Regions from separate parts of the Homo sapiens genome. Here all the other regions are linked to region 4. Evidence: promoter capture Hi-C in 16 types of primary human blood cells and fetal thymus (Javierre and others, 2016). All regions are on one chromosome and are shown on one strand. The core of a region is centred on a gene start or on the middle of the fragment in contact, and the rest is flanking DNA. Distances in the headings are between cores, read along the strand shown. Region 1 has its middle 7.5 kb from the start of ST3GAL1. Region 2 has its middle 11 kb from the start of NDRG1. Region 3 overlaps ST3GAL1 (ST3 beta-galactoside alpha-2,3-sialyltransferase 1). Region 4 holds the start of TMEM71 (transmembrane protein 71). Region 5 overlaps ST3GAL1 (ST3 beta-galactoside alpha-2,3-sialyltransferase 1).

Region 1 (2,700 bases), core at 133-2,632, 820 kb after region 4:
GTGGTTGAGATGGCAAACTACTTTAACCTGGGTGTGGATGTGGATGACATTGAGTAATTCCTAGAGGGGGTTCCTGAGGAATTGACTAATGGGTTGCTGTTGGAACTGGAATAGGAGTGCATAGCTGAAGAAGAGGTAAAGAAAAAGAAAGTGCAGGAGAAGGGAAAAAAGAACTCCCAAGAATACTCACAGTGATGGGTTTAGCAGAAGCTTCTTCAGTCTCCAACAAGCTCCTTAAGAAGTCTGAAAACATGGACCCCAAAACTGAAAGGTTTTCACTAATAGAGAGGAAAGTTCATGGTGCATTATCTGCCTACAAGCAAAACCAGGATTCAAAAAACCCTTTGAGCTGGAGCTTCAAAGCACAAAAAAAAAAAAAAAAAAAAAAAAAAGAAAAAGAAAAAAGAAACAAATGAAGCAAACCACCATGGACATAGTTATGAGTCTATTAGTGATGGGGATACGTTCTGAGGAATGTGTTGTTAGGCAATTTCATCCCTGTGCCAGCATCATAGTGTACTTATGCGAATATAGATGGTAAAACCTACTGCACACCTGGGCTATATGGTTTAGCCTATTCCTCTTAGGCTGCAAACCTGTACAGCATGTTATTGTACTGAATACTGTAGGCAATCGTCACTCCATGGTAGGTATGTATGTATGTATCTAAACATATCTAGACATAGAAAAGGTACTATAGAAAAACAGTATAAAAGATAAAAACGGTATGCCTGTATAGGCCACTTACCATAAGTGGAGCATGCGTTACTGGAAGTTGCTCTAGGTTGAGTCAGTGAGTGAGTGGTGAGTGAATGTGAAAGCCTAGGACATTACCGTATACTATTGTAGACTTTATGAACACTACACTTGGGCTACACTGAATTTATAAAAATGTGTTTTTCTTCAATAATAAATTAACCCTAGCTTGTTGTTACTTTTCTTACTTTATACACTTTTTAAACTTTTTTGACTTTTTTGTAATAAAACTTAGCTTAAAATACAAACACATTGAACAGCTGCACTAAAAATATTTTCATTTTCTTTTCTTTTTTTTTTTTTTTTGGTATTGGAGTTTCACTCTTTTGCCCAGGCTGGATGGCAGTGGCATCATCTTGGCTCACTGCAACCTCCGCTCCCCGGGTTCAAGCGATTCTCCTGCCTCAGCCTCCCGAGTAGCTGGCATTATAGGTGCACACCACCAGGCCAGGCTAATTTTTGTATTTTTAGTAAAGTCGAGGTTTCGCCATGTTGGCCAGGCTGGCCTTGAACTCTTGACCTCAGGTGATCCACCCACCTCAGCCTCCCAAAGTGCTAGGATTACAGGCATGAACCACTGCACCCAGCCTAAAAATATTTTCTTTATATCCCTATTTCACAAGTTTTTTCTATTTACAAATTATTTATTCATTTACTTTTCCAACTTTTTTGGTAAAATTAAGACACAAACACTCACATCAGCTTGGGCCCACACAGCGTCAGTCATCAATATCACTGTCTTTCACTGCATATCTTGAAACACAGGAAGGTCTTTAAGGGCAATAACCTGCATGGAGTTGCCATCCCCTAAGGTAACAGTGCCTTTCCCTGGAACACATCCTGAAGGTCCTGCCTGAGGCTGTATTACAGTGAACTCTGTGAGGTTTGCATAGCCATTAAATTGCCTAATGACGCTTTTCTTGGAATGTGTCTCTGTCATTAAGCCACTCCTGATGGTCTTAGACCCGAAATCTATGCTAAGCCATCTGGTTAGTCTCAGTCCATCCTGCCCACCCTAATCTCTTTGTCAAAAATCAGCTCATGAATGAATAGCTTTAATCCCTACTTGGACCACCAAGATAAAGAGATAAATATATTGAGTCTTCTAGGAAAAAAGTTTCTAAGAGTAAGCCCTGAATATAGCTTATTTCTAACTGGACATGAACAAAAGAGCATTTTTAACACAGTTGCTCTGGGAGGCATCTTTGTGCCCATGAAGAAAGCCAAATAAAGACATTAGGTTCAGAGTCGTAATCACACTAATGCATGAAGTCTGTTCTGGACTTTCTGTTTCATGAGTCAATAAAATTCTTTTGCTTACTCCACTTTAGGTCATAGTTCTGTTACTTGCAACAAAACCCTTGATAACGACAGTTAGATTGATTGTCCCGAAGCCCCTCTCCTTCCCTCAAGTCATTTCCAAGCTCTAACCCTTTAAAACATTTGTGGCTTCCCATTGCCTAGGGGTGTAAGTCCAGATTTCTGAGTCTAGCAGTTAAGACCCTCGGTGTGGTCCCAACGTGTGTTTCTCACTTGTTTCCTTCTAATACTCCTCTTTACAAACCCTCTACTAGCAGGCATAGCTTGGCCCAGAAGCTCTGGTTAACTTATATGTTATGTTCTTAAAATCAACATAGATCTCTATCTTGCTGGGCTGGTGAAGCCCCCAAGATATACAGAAGTCCAGAGGGCTAATGCAGGGCCTGGTGTGAGGAAACTCTGACTCCTGGCAATCCTCACTGCTTCTGCAGAGCCTCCCACTGTCCTGGGCTGCGAGATCCATAAGGATCATGGTTCCTAAGCTTCCTTGCCATAAGGTCCAGCTGGCCCAGATATATGCATTTCCTAGGATAGCCATAACCAACTACTACAAACTGTGTGGCCAGAAACAGCAGAAATTTATTTTCTCACAGTTCAGGAGGCTGCAATGAAGGTGTTGCAAAA
Region 2 (2,700 bases), core at 118-2,617, 550 kb after region 4:
TTTTCCTTTAAAAGTCTTTGGCTTTTTTTTAACCTCCCTAAATATGAATATAGTTTAGTATTACACATGTATTCCCATTGCAATGTTTATTCTCAAAGAAATATAATTTTCTTTAAGAGATTCTCCCTCTCTATTATTTAGGATAACGTAACTGGTGTCAGAAGTGGGATTTGAAGCCCGATAATCTTTGGAGAAAGTGTGTGATTCTTGGAAGTGGTGTGCAGTCAGCACATCTGAGTCCTTTGAGCTCTTTTCTTCCACAGCTCACCTTTTCATCCCTGGTGAGCATTCTCTTAGGCCAAGACTCCATTTTTTTGGTAAAAGCTCTTTGACTTTATTTGAGACCTGATTTGGGCAAGCCCAACTCAAATAAAAGACCTTGCATTCCTCCTGGGAAAAATAAGATTTTTTTTGTTTTTTTCTGACAAGTCCCTTCTAGTACAAAGTGATCTTGTCTTTCTGATGGGTATACTTTTCTGGTTTCTATGGAACTTATGTTCTGTTAGTGAGGCATGCCTTTACTGGTGCATTCACTATTGATTCCTTCTGCATACCTGGTTTAATATTTTGCTTGATCTGCGTGCCTGGCTTAAGATTTTTGTAAACACTTTGATTTTGGTTTATTTTAGTTTGGCTATGCATGTCTATATATAATTTGGATTATTTTCCCCCATGCTTGTTTCTGAGCGTTTTCTGAGAACAAAAATAAACATTCTAAATGGTGGATGTGAGATGACCAATTAAAAGCCACTGGGGAGGTTGCCATCATCTAAAACACTGGTCTAAACTCTTGACATTCCCTGACAGGATTTATAGGATTTACTCTGCTCTCAAGAGAATAAGAAATGAAATGGGATTCTCAAATATTAAGGCATGCCAGTTTTCTGGGACTCCATCCAGCTACATGGCTTTTCCTCATGCACATTTTTAAATCAGTGGCCCTCATAGGAATCATCAGAACTCCCCAAGCTTGTTTTCCTTGGTACCAAATTTTAAAACTGCAACTATAAGGTTAAAATAAAATGCCAGCACGTAAAAGCTCTTAATTGATCTATCTCTCTTTATTTCCCTTTTTTTAACCTCCTCTCCCATTGCTTTAAATCTGCTCTCTTTTTCACTGTTATTAAGATAATCTACTGTTGTTAATTTCAAAAACACTAAAAGGTTTTTCTTAGGGCACTTCAGCCAAGACTTTAAAAGCGAGAGAGTGCTTTGAAATTACAACAGCTCCATGATAACCAACAACCTAACCTTGCACACCTAAGAGCCATCCCTTTTGGAAATGCAAATTTAGGTTTACTGAGCTATAATCACTTAGTGTGATGGAACAGTTAATTAAAAGATTGATAATCTAAAAGAGAAACAACAAGACAGCATGTTTATAAAAGTTATGTTCTCAGATCAAACAGGTCAAAGTCTTGAGATCAGAACAATAATATAAGGTTTCCCTATCCAGCGTAAAAATTTTGCTTTGTCTGCCACACATACACCAGCAAAAGCCAAGGAAAAAACCCCGAAACTATAAACATCTTTCTCTAAAATGTTCCCTGCCCACATCAACTAATCAAGCAAACCAGACCTATAAACAAAAAGATAAATGTGTTGCTAAAATTCAAGGCCACCTGGATATTTTTCCCTTGTACAATTTAGCCAGTCATAACTGAAATATAAACATTTAAATATTTAAACCCTGAACTCATTTAAGCTAAAAAAAATGATAAAAAGAGGTTTTTAAAAAGCAAACTGCAATGAAAACCTCTTTACTTGAAGCTTTGGTACACAGCCTTCGTGAGATTACCTACGGAGTAAAGTAAAATGTAGCCAGAAAAACAGGTTCCAGTTTATCAGAAATATCATTTGGATCCAACTGTCCTTGCATAAATCAGTGAATTTATATTGCTGTGTTTTACTGGTAGAGAATCTGCTTTTGTGTATTTGTGTTGTCTGTCTGTTTTCATTTTGTTTGTATATTTTTCTACCAAAATATATTACAAAGCCTTAATTAATTAATTGACTTGAAACCTTAAGTACTTAAATCAAGTATTTCATCAAAAATATACTAACTCGGTTTTAAGTTCATAAAACTTAGATAAATCTTTGGTAAATAAAATAATTTTAAAATTGTTGGTAAAATAAAAATAGAAATGTCTTCAGAATTGCCAACATATGTTTTTCCCTGGGTTTAGTGATCAGATCATTTTATATTTGTCTTTGCTAGATGCTTTAACATGTCAGGCAAGGTTTAACACTAAGGTCATAAAACGATAAACCCAGCCTAAAAAGAGAATGATCTTTGTTTATGTAAGTCTTTGGTAATTAAAACTAATTTAATATTATTGATTTAATGAAAACAGCTATAGTTTTGAAGTTATCCACAAAATGCTCAAATATTTAACTTTAAGGTCCTTACTTGGGTGATAAACGCCTGATTTATTCACAGGCTATAAAAATGGTTAACAAAATAATAGCTTACGATAATGACTAGCCTTGTCTAATATCTCAGGTTTCATAAATAATCTAAGTATAATTGTGAAAAATAAATAAATTAGGTAAACGTAAATGGCACAAATGTTTATAAACTCTTCATAGTTTCAAAAAATCTTTTTGGTAACTTTAAATCTCAAAATTATATTAAATTAAGAAATAAATACTCATTAAGCATCTGGGTCATTTTCAAATAAGATCAAATACTAAAACATA
Region 3 (2,700 bases), core at 85-2,584, 780 kb after region 4:
CTTCTGACCAACTGGCTTCAAATTGGGTTCCCATGACCCCCTTTCTGGGCTCAATTAATTTGCTGGAAGGGCTCACAGAACTCAGGAAAACATATTTACTGGTGCAAAGGATACAGATAGAGAGATGCGTGGGGGGAGGTATGGGGGAAGGGGCATGCTACCCTCCAGGAACCTCCAGTGCTCAGCTATCTGGAAGCTCTTCCAACCCAGTCTTCTGGGGTTTTATGGAAGCTTCCTGACATCAGCATTCCTTCTCCCAGGGTACAGGGTAGGACCCTCTCTGGGGAGGATCTCAAGACCCACAGTCAGAAAGTCAGGGAAAGATTAGAGTCCTGTGTTAGGGCAGGGGAAGGAAGGCAGGAGAAAGTTGGAGACATCCTGTGTCCTGAGGCCTGCCACACCCAATATTATCACAAAAGGCTGTAACAAGGGCTACAAAAGAATGAGCCAGGAACTGTGGAGGAAATCCAATAATCATCCTAACACTACACTGCCTAAGCTCCAAGGGCTGGAGAAAAGCATCCAGGAGGGGTGCCAGGCTTGCAGAACGCCAGGCCCATTCTCTGGAACCCTCTACAGCTTGCACATCCCTGCAGCATCCATCTCCCCTGGGGGCCGGGATTGGCCCCACTGAATCAAGAAAACAAGGCCCTGCATGAATGAAGGTCACGAGGCTGGCAAGCAGCAGAGGCATCTGGAATCTTGTTCCTACAAACACAGGGCCCGGCTGTCTTGGATCTTTGAGCACCCAGGGAGGGCACTTCCTGTTGCCGGCTGCCATGGTTTCAGCTGTCCGGTGCCTGACCTTTCTAGAAGATGGTAATGATGAGAGTTGTGACTGCAAAGCCTCTAGCCAACAACTGAGAAGAGCTACACTCTGAGGTCTGGAAGGTCTGTGCGTCTTCTGCTCCATTTTACACATGAGACAATAGGGGCAGGGAGGGGCTGCATTTGAGGGCACTGCGGAACCATGGAGGGCTTCCGAAAGATCTCTCTAGTGAAAGCTGGAGGAAGAAAGTATAGGCAGAAGGAGCAAACAGCAGGCCAGACTAAGTTCCATGACAGCAGAAACCATGTTTTTGTTTTTTGCTGCTGTATCCGAAGTACCCAGCATGTCAAAGGCATTGAATTAAAACCTACTGAATGGCCGGGCATGGTGGCTCATGTCTGTAATCCCATCACTTTGGGAGGCCAAGGTGGGGGGATCACCTGAGGTCAGGAGTTCGAGATCGGCCTGGCCAACATGGCGAAACCCCATCTCTACTACAAATATAAAAATTAGCCAGGTGTGGTGGTGGGAGCCTGTAATCCCAACTACTTGGGAGGCTGAGGCAGGAGAATCACTTGAACCCAGAAGGCGGAGGTTGCAGTGAGCTGAGATTGCACCATTGCTCTCCAGCCTGGGCGACAGAGCGAGACTCCATCTCAAAAAATAAATAAATAAATAAATAAAACCTATTGAATGCATGTGTGAGTGAGTCTGTTACAGCTGCCCAGGAGAGGATGCAAAAGGCTGAGGGAATCCAAGCACTGTTAGCACTTGGCATTCCTTTCTCTGTGCATATGTAATTAGACATCCCACCTTCACACCAAAAATTAGAGCATTCCACCATGCTGGTTAAAAACTCCTTGTGTGGCTCAAATGCATATTATTCCATTCTGCGGCTGTACTGGATGTAGCTCATCTCCTAATCTTGACATTGCAGGTATTTCCAGCATATTGCTTAAAAGCAGTAGGCAGTGAGGATGATGGGGAGGCAGCAAGGGGACTGGGCTCTGGAGACGCTGTAAGCCTTCACAGCGCAGCCCCCCAACTTATTAGCTGTGTGACTGTTAAGTTACTTAACCAGTCTGTGCCTGGGTTTCATCATCCGTAAAAAAGGGAAATGACAGCAGCTGGCTGCCAGGGAGGCTGTGGGGTGAAATCTATGTGTGTGGGGTTGTTACAAAGGCGTAAGGGCCACAGCCAGCCCTGCGAGAGTGCTCACAAACACTCCCCCAGCCCCAGGACTCCTGAGCTCAGCTGATTCCTGAGAATGCAGTCCCTGATGTGGGATCACAGGTCAGCCCGCAGAACTTCAAGGAAAGTGCCTTCGAAAATCCCAGCAGAACCAAGAAGAACGAAGTTCTTTCGCCCTGTTCCCTGAGCCCAAGCACAAGGACTCAGAGGATCCAGAAGGCAAGTAAATTCACTGTACCATGGAGCACCAGGATTCCCACCGCCAACTCCCCTTGTGGCCAGCTCACCCGGCAGGCAGCAGGTAAGAGAAGGCACTCTCGCTGACACTGCAGCTCACAAAGCGGGCAAAGAACCAGAGCACGTCCAGGAAGCTGACGCTCCAGCCCCTGGGCTGCACCCCACTTATCTAGGGCTTGCATTTTATTTCAAAGTCATAACTTTGCATTATTTTTCCTTAAAGAAAACTCCCAAATTGTATAAGCTTCAGGACCCAAAGAACCAGAACTGCACCTAAACATACCACCGATTTATTAATTGATCTTTTTCTCCCATTAAATTATTATCATCGGCCAGTTATGGTGGCTCATACCTGAAATCCCAACGCTTTAGGAGGCTGAGGCTGGGGAATTGCTTGAGCCCAGTAGTTCCAGACCAGCCTGAGTGGCACAGCAAAACACCATCTCTATAAAAAATATAAAAATTAGCCAGGCATGGTGGCGCACGCTCGTATTCCAGCAACT
Region 4 (2,700 bases), core at 146-2,645:
TAAAAAGGTTGATTTGTAATCCAAAGAAAATAATGAAAGTGAGGTATTTGATTAAGAAATCTTAATAAAATGACTGGTTCTAACAGTCATTTAGCCCCAAAACAAACTTACGTGTATTTTAATCATCTGACACAAGTCAACTTCATTATCAAGTTTCAAACAGTGCTTGGAGATTGGTGTCTGTCTTTTTCCCAACAACTTGAACCATTGACAGGTAGTCACAGAGAGTGATTTTAATAGTTTTTATCAGCCTGGACATTCCTAAACAGCATAAGTAATGTTGCACTAAAGATAGCATACCATTGGGAAGATTTTAGAACTTAGTTCCCATGAAGACATGATTTAATTTCTCAATTACTAATTAAAAACATATCAAAGTATGTAAATTATGCAAACTTTGATCATTTACTGTTCATCAAATAGAACCAACTTCTGTTGACTATGAAACTTTGTATATAGTATCACTATCCTAATCGCTTTATAAGGTAGGAGTAAATTATTTTCTGATTCACCACTTATGGCCACATTTTGTAACATGAGAACTAGTAATGGATTGTTTTTGTAGCTGTAATTCAATCAATCAAACCAGGCTAATTCTACAGCTTCAAGTTGAATATTTCAATAAATTATATATAAACCCTATTAGGAAAATATAAACCTGGTTTATAGAGACCTGTAAAGATGTCAGGAGAACTTTCTGGCCTTCCTTGGAAGATTTCTAAATCAAAGCACACATTTACAAATTTCATTTGTTTGGGATATAAAATAATCCCAGTGTAATGTAATATATTAGTATGTTACTTGTTCTTTTCATTTTTGATCAATATTGTACGGGTATGCCCAGCCCAAATTACCTTATTTTAGTGTTCCCCAAGTATTAAGCTTAATTTTAAGCCTATAAATCCTGCAGCAAAAGAAGGTCTTATTGCTCTATCTCACAAGTGCTTAGAAGAATCTACAGGCAGTACACTGACATTCAATAGAAAATTAGTAACAGTAGGAAAAAAAAAAGCCCTTCAGTTACAGATCTAAAACTTTTCAAGAAACAGAATCTGCCAGTTCCATCAAAGCGACACATCTATTCTGAAAAATAATGTGTGCATACGTGTTCCTTCCAAAGGGAGTTCCCAGCCTCTTCTTCCAATTGACAAAGGACAAAATTATTACTGAAATACGAAGCTTCCTGTGGTTGACAGTGGAAAAATTGAGGACTGAGCAGTTCCTCGGCTGAAAAATGTCTGAATGTCAACAGGTGCAGAAGTCTCTTAATAAAGGGAATCCCACCCTACCTTCTTCTCACAGATGCCCACGCACATTGCTGTGCACAGGTGCTTGCAGAGAAGTTTTGTCTTCGGCAGCCTCTTGTTCTCTTGTCTGTTTCCTGGTATAAATGAGTGTATAGTTCTTGGGAAAGTCAGTCTTACAACTTCTCTTGTTTTCTTTTGAAAACAGCCTGCGTAACCAGAGGCAAAGAAGCAGAATGAGGTCACACTTCCTGTTGGGCTCACATCAGTGGCATTCACACTGAGGAGTGTGCTGAAGATTTCAGAGAGTTTCCTGGGCCAGCAGCAGGGAATGTGCAGCCCATGTGTCAGGCCAGCTGGTTACACCCTGGTCACTGGAGGGGTGGTTTTCTGAGCTAACTTGTCACCTTTGGCTGCGAGAACGTGAGAAAGACTCAGCGAACTGACATTTCTTGCTCATCATATGGCCACATTCAGTTATAAGTAGTGCAGAGTAGTGATCTTTGTCCAAATCACTTAAATTTATTGAGGATAATGCACTGATGCTATTAAATTCAGAATACTATTAAATAGCAAGAGCTTGATCTTATGAAAATTTCTATAGAGGCAATAGGTTTATCTAATGAAGGTTGGACTTCACAAAAAACTCTATAGATGGCATTTTACATTTACATTATAGTAGAGCTCAAAGACTTGATGGTGTTTATGGGTTCATACACATCTGTACTACTGTAAGTGATAAAAGAAATGTACATTCAAATATATATTCCAGCAACATTGAGGTACCACTGCATAGTGGAAAGAGTGCGGATTCTGGGGTCACAAGACAGAAATTCAACCTGTCTACCATCCTAGCTGTGTGACCTCAGATTTGTGACTTACCCCTCTGAGTTGCAGTTTTCTCAATTATAAACATAAAAATATATATGTCATATGATGGCTTGAAGAATTAAATGAAATAAAAGAAATGAGAAATAATCGAGTCCTCAGCACAGATGTGCAAGGTGTATTCTTTATTTGTTTTCTTAAATCAAGTTCTCTTCTGAGGCACCAGTTGGTCCGGCTGGCGGAAAAGTTAATCTCATCCTTTCCTGGGGTTCCCTTTCCCCCTGAGGTTCTGCCACATGGCAGGATCTTCTGTAGAACATGTTCTAGGCAGCAGGAACTGTCAGGAGGAGGGCCCATCTAATTTCAAAGTTCTCTGTCTCTGGAACTTCATGTCTATTCTCCATCCCTTGAGTGTAGACTGAGGCTGCTGACATGCTCCTTGTAAATAAAGTAAGGCAAAGGTGCTGAGTTTCCACTACCATGATGAGGCTTCCATCTTGTTGGACTCTATTACTTTCTTGCTTGCCTGCTTTGATGAAGCAAGCTGCCATGGTGGAGAAGCCCATGTGTCAAGGAATCAAGAGTGGTCTCAAAAGCCAGTAAGGGTCTGATGCTCCATCCAACAGCC
Region 5 (2,700 bases), core at 72-2,571, 800 kb after region 4:
CTGAGTGGTAATGCAGGCCTTGGCAGTATCACCCCACGGGCTGGCCTCCTATCCAGGTTCTGCCTGATGATGGGTTGAGCTGTCGCACCAGCCAGGCCCTGTCTGTGCTGTCCTCTCGGCTGTAAAATAAAGAGGCCGTGGTCTGACTCACACCTGTAATCCCAGCACTTTGGGAGGCCAAGGCAGGCAGATCATGAGGTCAAGAGTTTGAGACTAGCCTGACCAACATGGTGAAACCCTGTCTCTACTAAAAATACAAAAATTAGCCAGGCGTGGTGGCGCGTGCCTGTAATCCCAGCTACTTAGGAGGCTGAGGCGGAAGAATTGCTTGAATCCAGAAGGTGGAGGTTGCAGTGAGCTCAGGAGGCTGAGGCAGGAGAATTGCTTGAATCTGGGAGGCGGAGGTTGCAGTGAGCTGAGATCATGCCACTGCACTCCAGCCTGGGCAACAGAGTGAGACTCCGTCTCAAAAAAAAAAAAAAAAAAAAGAGGCCAGTGTCTTGAGGTCCCCCTCATGGCTAAAATCTTAGGTATGTCTCTTGTGCCTCTGATGTCCAGTGATGATACCCTAGCTTCACAGCCCAGACAACTTTCCCATCCTTAAATTCAGATAGCTCCTAAGAGCACCATTCTGCCATCTGCTCCAGGAAGCGCTCTCTGGTTGGAAGCTTTGAATGAGAAAGAGCCTTCTAAACCGCAAAGCTGCCCAGAGGTCAAAACACCACTGTGTGGGGCACAGAGCTCCCTACCACAGGTAGTGAAAAATGCAGCTCAAGGAGGCGGAACAAGAATGTAATTGATGATGATGTGTTGCCACAGCATATCTTTAACAAGGACTCTTCTGAGCACGGTCCAAGTGTTAACTCATTGAATGCTTATTTATTACCTCCTGGGAGGTAGGTACCATTGTTATCCAGATTTTATGGATGAGGAAAGGGAAGTACAGAGAGGTTCAGCAACTTGCTGAAGGACACGCAGTTAGGCAGTGGCAGAGCTAATACTTTTATGAGTAAATCAAGGAATCAATGAAAGACTCAGTAGATAGAAGAAGGTTGAACAAGGTTACTGCAAAGGCTCTTTGCAAATGCTAAGATTTTATAATTCTTTGACACTATTTAAGTGTGCAACCTCTGTAACTAATTATTCAACCAACATACCATGCCCCCGTCCTCCCGCAAGTAATGGTGACTAAAGTTTATGACACCATGGCTCAGAGAAAAAGAGAAAACCTCCTTTACTCCATCCGGGGCAGGTTCCTGACAATGCAGAAGTATTCTGATATTCAAAACTGTCTCCACAGCCAGTATATTTTTTTCTCCTTGTTTGGATTTCTGACATTGCATAAATGTCAGTTTAATGTATAAAATCCTATGCCGCAGGTCTTCCAATAATGCTGTTTCATTCAACAGCATTTCATTATAACATTGATGAGAAGAATACGGATTCCCGGCCGGGACCACTGTGTGTGTGGAGTTTGCAAGTTTTCCTCATGTCCTCGTGGGTCTTCTCCAGGCACTCCAGTTTCCCACACCCCAAAAAGCTGTGCATATCAGGTGAACTGCTGTGTTTATGTGGTCCCAGGGCGATAGAGTGTGGTTTTGTGTGTGTGTGTGTGTGTGTGTGTGCATGTGTGCACGTCCTAAGCCACTGGGACAGGCTGTGGCCACCTGCGATGCTGTTTGGGGCCTTCATTTAGAAGTTTGGTGATATTTTTATGAACAGAAATACATCAGAGATACTTAACTCTTGTTTATATCAGTTACCCTATGGTGAAATCAGTTTTTTATGTCGTTTCCCTTAAACTCACAATTTCCAAGGACCTATCGATGTCATTAAATGAGGACTTACTGTGGTCCAAGGATCATGTTTGCTGAGCTCAGTTTGTTCCAGGTCGCAGGGAGAAACAGAAAATAGCAGCAGACCTTAGGTTGGAACCAGTTCTTCAACCCATTCTGAAAGGTGTGTTTTCCATTTGAAGCTTCTATCAGGTGGTGAAAGAAAGAACGATGGTACTGTCTGCCTAATCTCTCCCTTTCATTTTAATTTCCTTTTTTTGCCAAAAGACTGAATTTTAAAACATAAGATTATGTTTTAGAAACAACCAGTAATACACCTCACAAAGACATTCCTATTCGTGGCAGCTAACATGTTTCCTGAGCAACGGTCTTTATTCATCAAACTCTCCACCAGGTGGTAGGATTAACAGTGTTTTCAAGTAAGAAGAAGAACAACAAACCTTTCTCTCCATTGTGAAGATGTTATTAAAAGGGAATTTTCCAAGGTTGCAACAGCGACGCTGACGATTCCTTTTACGTGAAGCAGGTTGCCTCCAAGAGGCTCCCATCTAGCTAGGGAGCTGGCTAAGTTTACACGCCTGATTGCAAACTTTGCACTCAGCCTTCCTGCTCAGTCCTTTCTCCAAACCCCCCGGCAGGCTCAAAGTGGCTCACCGCCTCCCTCAATCCCCAGGCACCTTGGGGCTCTTCGAATTCAATTTATAACAACAAGCCACAAAGATGAGTTCTTGCAAGCAGCCATGCAGGGACGGATGTGGAGCAGTTAAAGGAAACAAAATTACAGATAGGAGGAATAGGTTCTAGTGTTCTGTGGCACTGCAGGGTGGCTATAGTAAACAAGGATTTATAATATATTTTCATATTTTCAAATAGCTAGAAGAGAGGATTTTGAATGTTCCCAACA

What was found. The method cuts DNA at HindIII sites, captures the fragments that hold promoters and counts their contacts. A CHiCAGO score of 5 or more calls a contact.
Region 1: a fragment that was not itself captured here is called in contact with the fragment with the promoter of TMEM71 in region 4 in 1 of 17 cell types (naive CD4 T cells); the score reaches 5.3 in naive CD4 T cells.
Region 2: a fragment that was not itself captured here is called in contact with the fragment with the promoter of TMEM71 in region 4 in 7 of 17 cell types (activated CD4 T cells, total CD4 T cells, naive CD4 T cells and 4 more); the score reaches 7.4 in activated CD4 T cells.
Region 3: a fragment that was not itself captured here is called in contact with the fragment with the promoter of TMEM71 in region 4 in 1 of 17 cell types (activated CD4 T cells); the score reaches 6.0 in activated CD4 T cells.
Region 5: a fragment that was not itself captured here is called in contact with the fragment with the promoter of TMEM71 in region 4 in 2 of 17 cell types (activated CD4 T cells and total CD8 T cells); the score reaches 8.4 in activated CD4 T cells.

The regions. Positions count from the first base shown.
Region 1 is chr8:133,578,050-133,580,749 of GRCh38, forward strand. No RefSeq gene overlaps it. Among named protein-coding and RNA genes, the nearest start is that of ST3GAL1, 7.5 kb to the left of the region's middle. The HindIII fragment of the contact is 2,348 bases long and covers 209-2,556 here.
Region 2 is chr8:133,306,671-133,309,370 of GRCh38, forward strand. No RefSeq gene overlaps it. Among named protein-coding and RNA genes, the nearest start is that of NDRG1, 11 kb to the left of the region's middle. The HindIII fragment of the contact is 801 bases long and covers 968-1,768 here.
Region 3 is chr8:133,537,088-133,539,787 of GRCh38, forward strand. All of the region lies in intron 2 of ST3GAL1 (ST3 beta-galactoside alpha-2,3-sialyltransferase 1), which reads right to left. Among named protein-coding and RNA genes, the nearest start is that of ST3GAL1-DT, 32 kb to the right of the region's middle. The HindIII fragment of the contact is 2,210 bases long and covers 230-2,439 here.
Region 4 is chr8:132,759,187-132,761,886 of GRCh38, forward strand. TMEM71 (transmembrane protein 71) reads right to left here and starts at 1,396. Exons shown (of 10, transcript NM_001382403.1): 1 at 1,290-1,396. The HindIII fragment of the contact is 4,740 bases long and covers 1,178-2,700 here.
Region 5 is chr8:133,557,437-133,560,136 of GRCh38, forward strand. All of the region lies in intron 1 of ST3GAL1 (ST3 beta-galactoside alpha-2,3-sialyltransferase 1), which reads right to left. Among named protein-coding and RNA genes, the nearest start is that of ST3GAL1-DT, 12 kb to the right of the region's middle. The HindIII fragment of the contact is 1,310 bases long and covers 667-1,976 here.